Regions from separate parts of the Homo sapiens genome. Here all the other regions are linked to region 2. The links are contacts of gene promoters, found by promoter capture Hi-C in human tissues and cell types (Jung and others, 2019). All regions are on one chromosome and are shown on one strand. Each heading gives the region's core, a stretch centred on a gene start or on the middle of the fragment in contact. The rest is flanking DNA. Distances are from core to core; before and after follow the strand shown. Region 1 holds the start of RPL27 (ribosomal protein L27). Region 2 holds the start of RAMP2 (receptor activity modifying protein 2). Region 3 has its middle 17 kb from the start of AARSD1. Region 4 holds the start of NAGLU (N-acetyl-alpha-glucosaminidase).

Region 1 (2,700 bases), core at 128-2,627, 240 kb after region 2:
GGGGGGATCACGAGCCCAGGAGGTTGAGGCTACAGTGAGCCATGATTGTGCTACACACCATTCAGCCTGGGTGACAGAGCGAGACCCTGTCTCAAAAAACAAAACAAAAGCCATTGCAATGGGATCCTGAGGGATACAGGGAAAATTGTATCACTGGAGAGCTTCAGGAGAGAACTGATGAAATCCTGGTTGTTCCACATCTTGCCCAAGACAAATCCTATAGGTTCAGATAAGCAAAAACTGTGAGATAGTTTATCTTTCCCTTAAACTCGGAAAGCACATAAGGTACCATGTGAAAACACTCTTCTGGTGAGTGATGGGAAATAATTCAGTTTGAGAGCCAACTAGACCTAGATTCAGACCTAGATTTGAATCCCATCTATGCCACTGATTAGGATTAACCTCAGACAAGCAATTTATCCTCTCTGAATTGCAATTTCCTCATGTCTAAATGGGAGGAGAATGCCCAAGATGCAGAGTTGTGAGGATTAAACAGGCTGCCGGCTTGTATAAAGTGCTCACATCTTGCCTGGGAGAGAATCGCTGCTCAGGATGGTGACATGGTAAACAGTATGGGTTCAGGAGTTGAACTGCTTGAGGCTGAGCCCCAGCTCCACTATTTAACCACTATAGACTTCGGGCAAATCTCTCTAAGCCAGTTTCCTCGACTCTAGAATGGAGATAATAGTATCTATTTCTTAGTGTTATGATGACCAAATCAGATGATGTGCATAAATAGATTAACCTGACCTGGCACAGGGTAAGCAGCTGCCATTCTTCTCCTCTACCTCCCTCATGCTTATTCTAGTTGGTAATGTCAGTGACACCACTAGACTTTAACTGTTGGGGGTAAATATCCTTTTTGTTTGTTTTTTTAAAACCAAATTTAGCAGTGGGGGGTTGTATACCAACTTTAGTGACCCTAACGTTGATAAGTTCTGATAACCCACTACTATCGGACCAGCCACCCTTACTGATCTTTGTCCCTCCCTCTTTAGCTAACAGTGCCCCCGACAGGCACCAATAAATGCCCTATTTTTTTCCCTGTGTCTCCCAAGAGAAAAAGTAAATTTCAGATTGTGTTCCCCCTCCTAGCGCCAGAGAAAGGAACTACAACAAAGCCTAGCTGCTGAGTCCAGAGCGCACAGCACAGTCGCCCTCCCAGCTCTTCCGTCGGCCGGGAGGAGTCTCCTTTGCTCTTGTCTACTGCTGGAGCTGCTAATAAAGTTTCATTCGAATACTTGAGCTGCCGCGCCCTGCGTTTCCCTCATGAGCTTCTTCCGCCCGCAACACGAGACTCAGCACCACACAATCAGCGTGGCAAAGCCTGAAGGGCGGGACAGGAAGTGAGGTCACTCCTCACCGGGGTGAAAGGTTAGCGGAAGTGTCCTTCTTTCCTTTTTGCTGGTAGGGCCGGGTGGTTGCTGCCGGTAAGTAGAAGCTTGGGTTGAATCTTTCAATCCGCTGCCATCCGCGGCTTGGGGGTCGAAGGTCCGGGCGGCGCCGGGTGCATTCCTTCCCTAGGTCTCTGGCGGCTACGTATCCGATCCTGTCCTGCGAGCAGGGCCCTCGGGCGGCCTTGACCAAGGCGACAGTGAACACAGTCTGAAGTTCCGGCCCAAGACCTGGGCTTGCTGGCAGGAGTCAGCTCTGGGCATCTTTGGCTTTACGGATTTTTAAGTGGCCCTTTCTCCTTGCTCTCTGCAGAAATGGGCAAGTTCATGAAACCTGGGAAGGTGGTGCTTGTCCTGGCTGGACGCTACTCCGGACGCAAAGCTGTCATCGTGAAGGTATCAGCCTCGCGGGACTCTGCGTCCTTGCATGCCGGGACCAGGCTGGCTGCGGCGGGGCGGGCAGGCTTGGAATTCAAGGCCTGTTTCTGGGGCAGTAGCCAGTGAGCACGGTCAGGGTGAACGTGGGAGAGTTTTTGAGAGAGGAAGAAGCACAGTAAAAGCAAATGTGAGCTGAATTGGGCTCCCAACGCATAAAGCCTTCTCCACCAGAGGCTTTAAATATATAGTAATAGTGGCTGACATTGCACGCTTGCTATGTGCTCCCACTGCCTTTCAGGTATTGTCATGTGCAGTCCTTGAAGTAATCATAGGGGATTCCTTTTCTTTTCTTTTCTTTTTTTTTTTTTTGAGACGGGATCTCTGTCCAGGCTAAGTGCAGTGGCGTGATCACTGCAGCCTCGACCTCCCGGGCTCAAGCGAGTCTCCCATCTCAGCCTCTCGAGTGGCTGGGACTACAGGTGCGTGCCACCATCCCCAGCTATAGGGGGTTCCTTCCTGTTGCTAAGGTTTGGAGGTGTTCTGTTATTTACCTGAAGTGCTGCAGCTGGGAATCTGTAAGAAGAGGAGGAAATTGCTTTTAGAAAGGTCACATAGCCCCTCACTGTTTTCCTCTTATCCATGATTTTGTAGCTTCTTGAGAGAGTTCCCTAGGCTCTGGCCACATACACCACTGCGTTTTGTTGTTGTGGGGACACTGGAGTACCCCTGGATTCCCCTCTCCCATCTCCTGAGACTGATCTCTGGAGTTAGGCTGTGGTGTCTTAACCTTGGCTGTACACTTCACTAGCAGTGGAGCAAGTGAATAGATACCAAGTCCTGTGAGCAGTGCTTGGCATATAGCAAGTACTTCTTAAATGTTAACTGTTGCTACTTTTAAATCTCTTACCTCTAGTAAGCCGTTCCAGAT
Region 2 (2,839 bases), core at 222-2,721:
TCACGTCAAGCAGGCCATTGACTCTCTCCCACTGGATTCTTTGCAAAAGCAGCCTCTTGACCATAGAGGAGGACAACAGGTTATCCGTGCCCATGATCCAAGAGCTTGAGATCCTGAGATGAAGACTTCAGGAGAGATCAGGACAGATAATTTGTGGTGGGCAGGAATCAGTAAACTGGGACAACAGCAGCAGCTGAGTCCAAGGGTCAGTGTCTGGGAGTAATTTAGGAAAGTTTGGTGCTGACAGCTGTGTCTGGGACTTGAACGTCATGGCCAAACCAGCTCCTGGGCTCCTCAGCTGCTTCAGACTAATGAACCTCTGGCCCAGGACACAAGAAGCAGCTGTGGTGTGGCTGAAGTCAGGACCCCCGGAGGCCCAGACTCAGCCTTGCTGCTTCCTTAACAGTGTGACCTTAGATAAGTCACTTAGGAAAAGAGGAAAGGAAACTAGCATTTAGCGAGTGCAGTGCCCTTTCACAGCTGCCATCATACAGTGAGGAGGGGAATGTCCCTATTTCACATGAGAAGTCCTGAAGGTAAACGTGTCATTCAAGGCTCTATAGCTGGGGAGTAAGAAGACAGAATTAGAACCCAGAGCTTCTGAATTCAAATCCCGGGCTGTTGGCCCTGAGCTTTAGCTTCTCGGTCTGTAAAATGGTGTTACACTCACCTGGCACATGAAGTCGCACACTGAAGGTTCTAAAACCCCTCCATTCTTTCTCCCAACCGTGGTCCTGAAGAGCTGTGGCACCTTCTTCCTGGGAACGTAGTCATCGTATTTTGCCCTCCCCACAACAGGTTTGTGGGGTCTAGGCCCCAGGAGGTGTCTGAAGGGAAGGTATTTGGACTTTGCTTTCCCCTCTACCCCACTCCCCAGACCTTCTCCCGACTCCAGAGGGCTGGCTCCCGCTTCTCCTCCCTGGTTTTGGCTGGCGGACTGACATCAGCTGGTATTCCTAGGGATAGGATAAGGAACCCTGAGCTGCATGGCTCAGCTCCAGGCGCCCCTTCCCCCACAACCCAGGACAGCCCCTTAGAAGCAGCGGCGTCGAGAGGCCGCTGGAGCTCCCAGCCCCCTCCCTCTTCTCCACGTCTGGGAGAGCAGCTTGCCGACCCCTCCAGACCCGAAAGAGAGAGGGGGCGACTCGAATTCGGGGAGCGATCCTGGGAGACCCTGGAGAGTCCTGGGCGCCACGCAGCCGAGCCCCCGAAATAGATCCCGGTTCCGGGGTTCCGGGAGCTGTCCAGCCTCGCGGGGTGAGCTACGAGAGGGTGGGCCAACGCCGGCGAGGCGGAGGGAGCCGCGGGCGCCAGGCGCGGGTGAGGCAGCGACTCCCCCTCCAGCCGCGGGCCCCGAGCGTCGCCCCCGCCCCCCACGTGGCCGCCGCCGTCCCAGCCCCTCCGAGGAAGCGGCGCGGCTTCCTGCAGCTTGGGCTGGGGATATAGGCGCCCCCACACCCGGGCCCGGCTCAGCGCCGCCGCCGCTCCTCGCCTCCTTGCTGCACGATGGCCTCGCTCCGGGTGGAGCGCGCCGGCGGCCCGCGTCTCCCTAGGACCCGAGTCGGGCGGCCGGCAGCGCTCCGCCTCCTCCTCCTGCTGGGCGGTGAGCGCGGCGCCCCGAGGCCCGGGCGGGAGGCGCGAGAGGCCCCGGAGGGGAGAGGGGAGAGGGGAGAGGGGCTGGATGGCCGAGGCCGGAACGGGCCCTGGGGTGCGGGTTAGGACCGACGTACCTAGCAGCACTGGCCCTCGGACGGTCCCTGACCCCACCTCGGGGCGGGCGCAGCATGAGCTGCTTCCCACCCAGGGAAAGCTGGGGTGCTGGCCCCGGCCCCTCGAAGAGGGCTTAGGAGGACGGAAGCTGGCCAGAGATGAGGGGGCTTTGGGCCTGGGTGTGAGTGACAAGGAGCTGGTGCCAGCCCCTCCCTCCCCGGCACTGAGGCGTCCGTGGGGGCTAGATTATTCCTCCTTTTCTTCCAAGGTAGCCTATTTTCGGAGGGTCTCAGTCCCCCAACCCCCCTCGCAGGCTCCACTGCCGGGGTCCCCGCTATGTTACCCTCCTCTCCCGTTTCTTCCCACAGCTGTCCTGAATCCCCACGAGGCCCTGGCTCAGCCTCTTCCCACCACAGGCACACCAGGGTCAGAAGGTGGGTACCCAGGGTGTGGAAGGGTGGCCGAGGGTAAGGACGAGAGCAAGTTCAGTGGGGAGGGTTCCTTTCCCACGAGGCCTGCCCAACCCCAGCTGATGCCCCACTACACTCCCCTCTGTTCTTTCTTGGGGTTCCTCGTGGTCTTTCTCCCTGTCCTCCTACAAAGCCCCTGCACGGCTCTGAGCTGCCCACCTCACAAGTGGGCGAGAAGACCCCAGGAAAAGGTGTACGTGGAAGTTCTTATCAGGCTGGGATGGAAAGTGCTTAGCACATGGAAGTCATTATAGGATTCCTGAGCTGGGACTCTGTCCTCAGCCAGAATGTTTTGCTAGGGAAACTTTCTGAAGGGTTCCCACGTTTGAAGACAGGCAGTTCACCTTGCAAGCACCTGGGCAGGAGGGTTTGTAGGGAGGGGTAGGGGTGTGGTCATTGTGTAGCATCTGTACCTACAGGGGGGACGGTGAAGAACTATGAGACAGCTGTCCAATTTTGCTGGAATCATTATAAGGATCAAATGGATCCTATCGAAAAGGATTGGTGCGACTGGGCCATGATTAGCAGGTAGGGGCAGTGATGGAGGGTGGCTCAGGCCAGGGGGTGGACCTGCTCATTGCAGGTAGACCCTGAGTGAGAGTGGGGCACTCTTCTCCCTGGGTCCACCCCCTCTCTCACTCAAGTCCTCTTCTGCCCCT
Region 3 (2,700 bases), core at 124-2,623, 190 kb after region 2:
TGTATTTTTAGTAGAGGCGGGGTTTTTCCCATGTTGGTCAGGCTGATCTCAAACTCCCGACCTCAGGTGATCCACCTGCCTCAGCCTCCCAAAGTGTTGGGATTACAGGCATGAGCCACAGCGCCGGCCCTGAATTCAGTCTGTCTACTGCTCTGGGTCTCTTCCACCTGATACCTTTCATCTTTCATACTAACATCTGTTCTAGTACCTACATGCATCACCTTAGTGGAAGCTACAGCAGCTGTCTTCAGCAATTTATGGGTACGCACATAAAAAAATTTCCTTAGAAGCCAAGGAGTCCCCCTTACTATTTCTGTGCCGTAAAGTGGGTTATAGTAACATTCCAGAATATATAACCTGTGTGTGTACCTAAAACTTGATTACTCCAATAAATGAACTCATTTTGTTTCCTGGTGAACCTCATAAAAGACAATCCACCCCTTCCCCTGAACACACTCTGTTCTTCTCCCCCTCTCCCTGGGGCATTGGATTAGGGCCTCAGTGACAGGCAAGAATGACATCACCAGTTCAAAAACTGCTGCTTTATTTTCTCTTTCTTTATACAACCAATTACCATTTTCACATAATTTGCTCAAGTGTTTATGGCTTTTCTTAATTATTTCATAAGGTTCCTTCCTTCTTAGGACACCCAGTTCATGTGTCCATTTTCAGGTCAAGAAACTGAAGCTCAGGGAGTCTCAGCAGGGGGACCAGACATCCAGGCTACCTTAACACCGTCTGGGTTTCTGACTGTTGTTCTGGCATGAGGTTTGCCTAACTCTGGATATTAAAATTACATGGTTGCTCTAGGTCTAAGTGACAAGAACCCACCTGAGTGGTAGTGAGCAAGAGTGGCCTCCCAGGTCACTGTTCTTGTTGTTGCACCTGTGTTCTGAATCTTTGTGTACCCCTAAAAATTCATATGTTGAAATCCTAACCCCCTAAGTGGTATCAGGAGGTGGGCCCTTTAGCAGGTGATTAGGTCACGGGGGCAGAGCCTTCGTGAATGAAATTAGTGCATTATAAAAGAGGCCCGAGAGGGCTGGGTGCGGAGGCTCATGCCTGTAATCCCAGCACTTTGGGAGGCTGAGGCAGGCGGATCACCTGAGGTCAGGAGTTCGAGACCAGCCTGGCCAACATGGTGAAACCCCATCTCTACTAAAAATACAAAATATTAGCTGGGTGGGATGGCAGGCGCCTGTAATCCCAGCTACTCGGGAGGCTGAGGCAGGAGAATCACTTGAACCTAGGGGGTGGAGGTTGCAGTGAGCTGAGATTGCACCATTGCACTTCAGCCTGAGCAACAAGAGTGAAACTCCATCTGTCTCAAAAAAAAAAAAAAAAAAAAAAGGCCCAAGAAAGACCCCTTACCCTTTGCACCAAGGGTGCAAAAAGATGGCTATTCCTGAACCAGTATTTGAACCTTCACACCAGACACTGAATTTGCCAGCTTCCCAGCCTCCACTGTGAGAAATACATTTTTGTTGTTTATAAGCTACCTAGTTTTTGTTATTATAGCAGTCAGATCAGACTAAGGCACACCCTAAAGAAACAAACACAGAGAGGGACAGAGATCTCACACAGAGACAAATTCACATGGGTCTCTGTTCAAGATCCTGCCTGAGTCCTTCTACAAAAGTAAGGAAGCTTCTGTGAAGCAAACATTTCCCTTTCTCCCACTAATGGACCCATTTTGTATAGCATGAGTGTTACACTATGGTTTTATCTAAAACATGGCACTCTGAGAAAAGCAAGATGCAGAAGAGTATACAATGTGCTACCATTTATGTTTAAAAAGAGGGAAGATTTATGTACATCTATTTTTTAAAATACTACCAGAGGGATATATAAGAAATTGGTAACAGGCTGGGCATGGTGGCTCACGCCTGTAATCCCAACACTGGGAGGCCAAAGTGGACAAATTGCTAGAGCCCAGGAGTTCAAGACTAGTGTGGGCAACACGGCAAAGCACTGTCTCTAGAAAAAATACAAAAAATTAGCCAGGTGTGGTGGTGCACACCTCTAGTCCCAGCTACTCAGAGGGCTGAGGTGGGAGGATCACCTGTTCCCAGGAGGTTGAGACTGCAGTAAGCCATGATTGTGCCACTGCATTCCAGCCTGGGCAACAGAGTGAGACTATATCTGGAAAAAAAAAAAAAAAAAAGGCCAGGCATGGTGGCTCATACTTGTAATCCCAGCACTTTGGGAGGCCGAGGCCGGCGGATTACCTGAGGTCAGGAGCTCGAGACCAGCCTGGCCAACATGGTGAAACCCCATCTCTACTAAAAATACAAAATTAGCCGGGCATGGTGGCACATGCCTGTAATCCCAGCTACTCGGTAGGCTGAGGCAGGAGAATTGCTTGAACTCGGGAGGCGGAGGTTGCAGTGAGCGGAGACTGCGCCATTGCACTCCAGCCTGGGCAACAAGAGCGAAACTCCATCTAAAACAAAAAAATTAAGTGATTGATTCTGGAGAAAGAAATTGGGTAACTCAGTGGCAGGGTTGAAGGAAATTTTTGGTAGCACACACCTGTAATCCCAGCTACTTGGGTGGCTGAGGCACAAGAATTGCTTGAACCCAGGAAGCGGAGGTTGCAGTGAGCCAAAATCATGCCACTGCACTCCGGCCTAGGTGGCAGAACAAGACTCTTATCTCCAAAAAAAAAAAAAGTTCCTTTCAGAGTCGGAAGAACAAATA
Region 4 (2,877 bases), core at 378-2,877, 220 kb before region 2:
CTAACTTTTTTTCTTTTTTTTTTTTTTGAGAGGGAGTCTTGCTCTGTCCCCCAGGCTGGAGTGCAGTGGTGTGATCTTGGCTCACTGCAACCTCCGCCTCTCCGGTTCACGCCATTCTCCTGCCTTAGCCTCCCGAGTAGCTGGGAGTACAGGCGCTCGCCAACACGCCCGGCTAATTTTTTGTATTTTTAGTAGAGATGGAGTTTCACCGTGTTAGCCAGGAGGGTCTTGATCTCCTGACCTCGTATCCGCCCGTCTTGGCCTCCCAAAGTGCTGGGATTACAGGCGTGAGCCACCGCGCCCAGCACCTGGCTAACTTTTGTATTTTTAGTACAGACGGGGTTTCACTGTATGTTGGCCAGGCTGGTCTCAAACCCCTGACTTGAGGTGATCTGCAAGCCTCAGCCTCCCAGAGTGCTGGGATTACAGGCGTAAGCCACCGCTCCTGGCCTAAGGTTGGCTATTTTTATGGTTATTTCTTGATTATATGATAAACAAGGGGTGGGTTAGTAATGAATTTTTCAGAAAAGGGGTGGGGATCCCCCCCAACTGAAGGTTCCTCCACTGTTTAGACCATATAGGGTAACTTCTGGACGTTGCCATGGCATTTGTAAACTGCCTGGCGCTGCTAGGAGTGTCTTTAGCATACTAATGCATTATAATTAGCGTATAATGAGCAGTGAGGACGATCAGAGGTCACCTTCCTGTCTTGGTTTTGGCAGGTTTTGACCAGTTTCTTTGCTGCATTCTGTTTTATCAGCGGGGTCTTGTGACCTTTTATCTTGTGCTGACCTCCTGTCTCATCCTGTGACGAAGGCCTAACCTCCTGGGAATTCAGCCCAGCAGGTCTCTGCCTCATTTTACCCAGCCCCTGTTCAAGATGGAGTCGCTCTGGTTGGAAACTTCTGACAAAATGACAGCTCCTGTTATGTTGCTGCTGCTGCCGCCAATGGACAGCCTTTAACGTGCCCGCCAGCCCTGCTCCACCGCCGGCCTGGGCTCACATGGCCCCATCCCTCCTCGAACCTCCTAGCCTGTTAGTTACTCAAATCTGCAAGCTCTCTGCCTTCTCAGGGCCTTCAATAAATGCATTTCTTCTGTCTGGAAGGCTCTTCCTTTCCCTCTTCTAGCCAATTCCTATTCATCCCTGAGTTTCAGATTAAAAGTCACTTCCTTTGGAAACCTTACTTCGCTACTTCGCTACTTACTGCACTACTTCGCAGCATCACAACTATGATGGAAATCCTTACTTACGTTAAATATCTGGTTTCTAGGTCACCTCCCTGACGGGGACGGTAGGGACCGTCTTCTCGTTCATCAGTAGGGAAGTAGCTATGGCAGTGCCTGATACAAAATAAACTCCAAATGTGTATTTATTAGATGGTTGGATGGAAGTTATTTGCGTGTGAAAGCGCGTTTTACCCGAAGGCGCTCTGTGAGGGCCAGCGGGTCCCCTTCGGCCCTGGAGCCGGGGTCACACGCTCCCCACCGCGTGCGGTCACGAGACGCCCCCAAGGGAGTATCCTGGTACCCGGAAGCCGCGACTCCTGGCCCTGAGCCCGGGCTTAGCCTTCGGGTCCACGTGGCCGGAGGCCGGCAGCTGATTGGACGCGGGCCGCCCCACCCCCTGGCCGTCGCGGGACCCGCAGGACTGAGACCATGGAGGCGGTGGCGGTGGCCGCGGCGGTGGGGGTCCTTCTCCTGGCCGGGGCCGGGGGCGCGGCAGGCGACGAGGCCCGGGAGGCGGCGGCCGTGCGGGCGCTCGTGGCCCGGCTGCTGGGGCCAGGCCCCGCGGCCGACTTCTCCGTGTCGGTGGAGCGCGCTCTGGCTGCCAAGCCGGGCTTGGACACCTACAGCCTGGGCGGCGGCGGCGCGGCGCGCGTGCGGGTGCGCGGCTCCACGGGCGTGGCGGCCGCCGCGGGGCTGCACCGCTACCTGCGCGACTTCTGTGGCTGCCACGTGGCCTGGTCCGGCTCTCAGCTGCGCCTGCCGCGGCCACTGCCAGCCGTGCCGGGGGAGCTGACCGAGGCCACGCCCAACAGGTACCGCCCCGAAGCTTCCCCGCGTCCGCCCGAGGCGCTTACCCCCTCCCGGAGCCGCTGCCACCCAAATCGGGAGGCTGAGCGGGGAGCGCTGGCCGGAAGGCCCAGCTGCGCCGCCTCCAGCAGCTGTGTGGCCTTGAGCCAGCCACTCTGCCTTTCAGAGCCTCGGCTGGCCCACCTGAAAAACGGAAAGAAGACGCCTACCGTGCAGTGTTATTGTGAGGATTTGCACGATGATGGGCATAGAATTTGTGGTGCACAATTGGTGATGAGTGAATTTTCTTGCCTTCCTCCCCCACCTTCTCTTTGAACCTGCGGACTGAGGAAGGACGCCTCCATCCCCCACCCTACAGGCCTGTGTTCCAGCGCCTGCCACACTATGGAGTGATGTGTTCACACAGCTGTCCTCCCCTGCCCATCTGTTAGACTGTGGGGGCAGGGATTCCCCGTTCCAGGAAAACACCGTGCAGAGGAGGGGCTCTGGCAGTGTGGCATGAAAGTGGAATATGCCACCCAAATACCCGCCAGGCTAGAGGGCCCTGGGAGAGTGCAGGGGACGAGTGCCTCAGAAGCCCAGCCCCGGTACCTGGTCTCAGCTCCACCTGGGGTGGGTCCCAGTGTGCAGCAGAAGGGCCGAGTTTGGAGCCCCTCCCCTCTCCTCTAGGTGGGGGATGGGGGATTTGTTCCAGGGCCGTGGACCCTCCAGGGTGGGATGCGCCCCTGCTCATGACACTGCCCGCAGGTACCGCTATTACCAGAATGTGTGCACGCAAAGCTACTCTTTCGTGTGGTGGGACTGGGCCCGCTGGGAGCGAGAGATAGACTGGATGGCGCT

Evidence for each region. Contacts are between HindIII fragments. The study calls those that stand out against the background at their distance.
Region 1: a contact is called between the fragment with the promoter of RPL27 here and the fragment with the promoter of RAMP2 in region 2, in 1 of the 25 tissues and cell types used here (lymphoblastoid cells).
Region 3: a fragment that was not itself captured here is called in contact with the fragment with the promoter of RAMP2 in region 2 in 7 of the 25 tissues and cell types used here (IMR-90 fibroblasts, dorsolateral prefrontal cortex, liver and 4 more).
Region 4: the fragment with the promoter of NAGLU here is called in contact with the fragment with the promoter of RAMP2 in region 2 in 1 of the 25 tissues and cell types used here (lymphoblastoid cells).

Annotation. Positions count from the first base shown.
Region 1 is chr17:42,997,042-42,999,741 of GRCh38, forward strand. It overlaps RPL27 (ribosomal protein L27), which reads left to right and starts at 1,378. Exons shown (of 5, transcript NM_000988.5): 1 at 1,378-1,430; 2 at 1,708-1,790. The coding sequence starts at 1,710. It overlaps LOC124904006 (a long non-coding RNA gene), which reads right to left. Exons shown (of 2, transcript XR_007065759.1): 1 at 2,680-2,700; 2 at 1-2,345. RefSeq lists enhancers at 935-2,134, 1,100-1,409, 1,420-1,659, 1,730-1,839. The HindIII fragment of the contact is 14,123 bases long and covers 1-2,700 here.
Region 2 is chr17:42,759,756-42,762,594 of GRCh38, forward strand. It overlaps RAMP2 (receptor activity modifying protein 2), which reads left to right and starts at 1,472. Exons shown (of 4, transcript NM_005854.3): 1 at 1,472-1,603; 2 at 2,079-2,144; 3 at 2,600-2,708. The coding sequence starts at 1,507. RAMP2-AS1 (RAMP2 antisense RNA 1) reads right to left here and starts at 1,502. Exons shown (of 6, transcript NR_024462.1): 1 at 1,125-1,502; 2 at 880-956; 3 at 671-758; 4 at 1-125. RefSeq lists a silencer at 1,586-1,675. The HindIII fragment of the contact is 24,962 bases long and covers 1-2,839 here.
Region 3 is chr17:42,946,535-42,949,234 of GRCh38, forward strand. No RefSeq gene overlaps it. Among named protein-coding and RNA genes, the nearest start is that of AARSD1, 17 kb to the right of the region's middle. The HindIII fragment of the contact is 8,985 bases long and covers 1-2,700 here.
Region 4 is chr17:42,534,614-42,537,490 of GRCh38, forward strand. NAGLU (N-acetyl-alpha-glucosaminidase) reads left to right here and starts at 1,628. Exons shown (of 6, transcript NM_000263.4): 1 at 1,628-2,042; 2 at 2,785-2,877. The coding sequence starts at 1,660. RefSeq lists enhancers at 1,341-1,420, 1,934-2,671 and silencers at 1,531-1,940, 2,061-2,130. The HindIII fragment of the contact is 7,033 bases long and covers 1-2,718 here.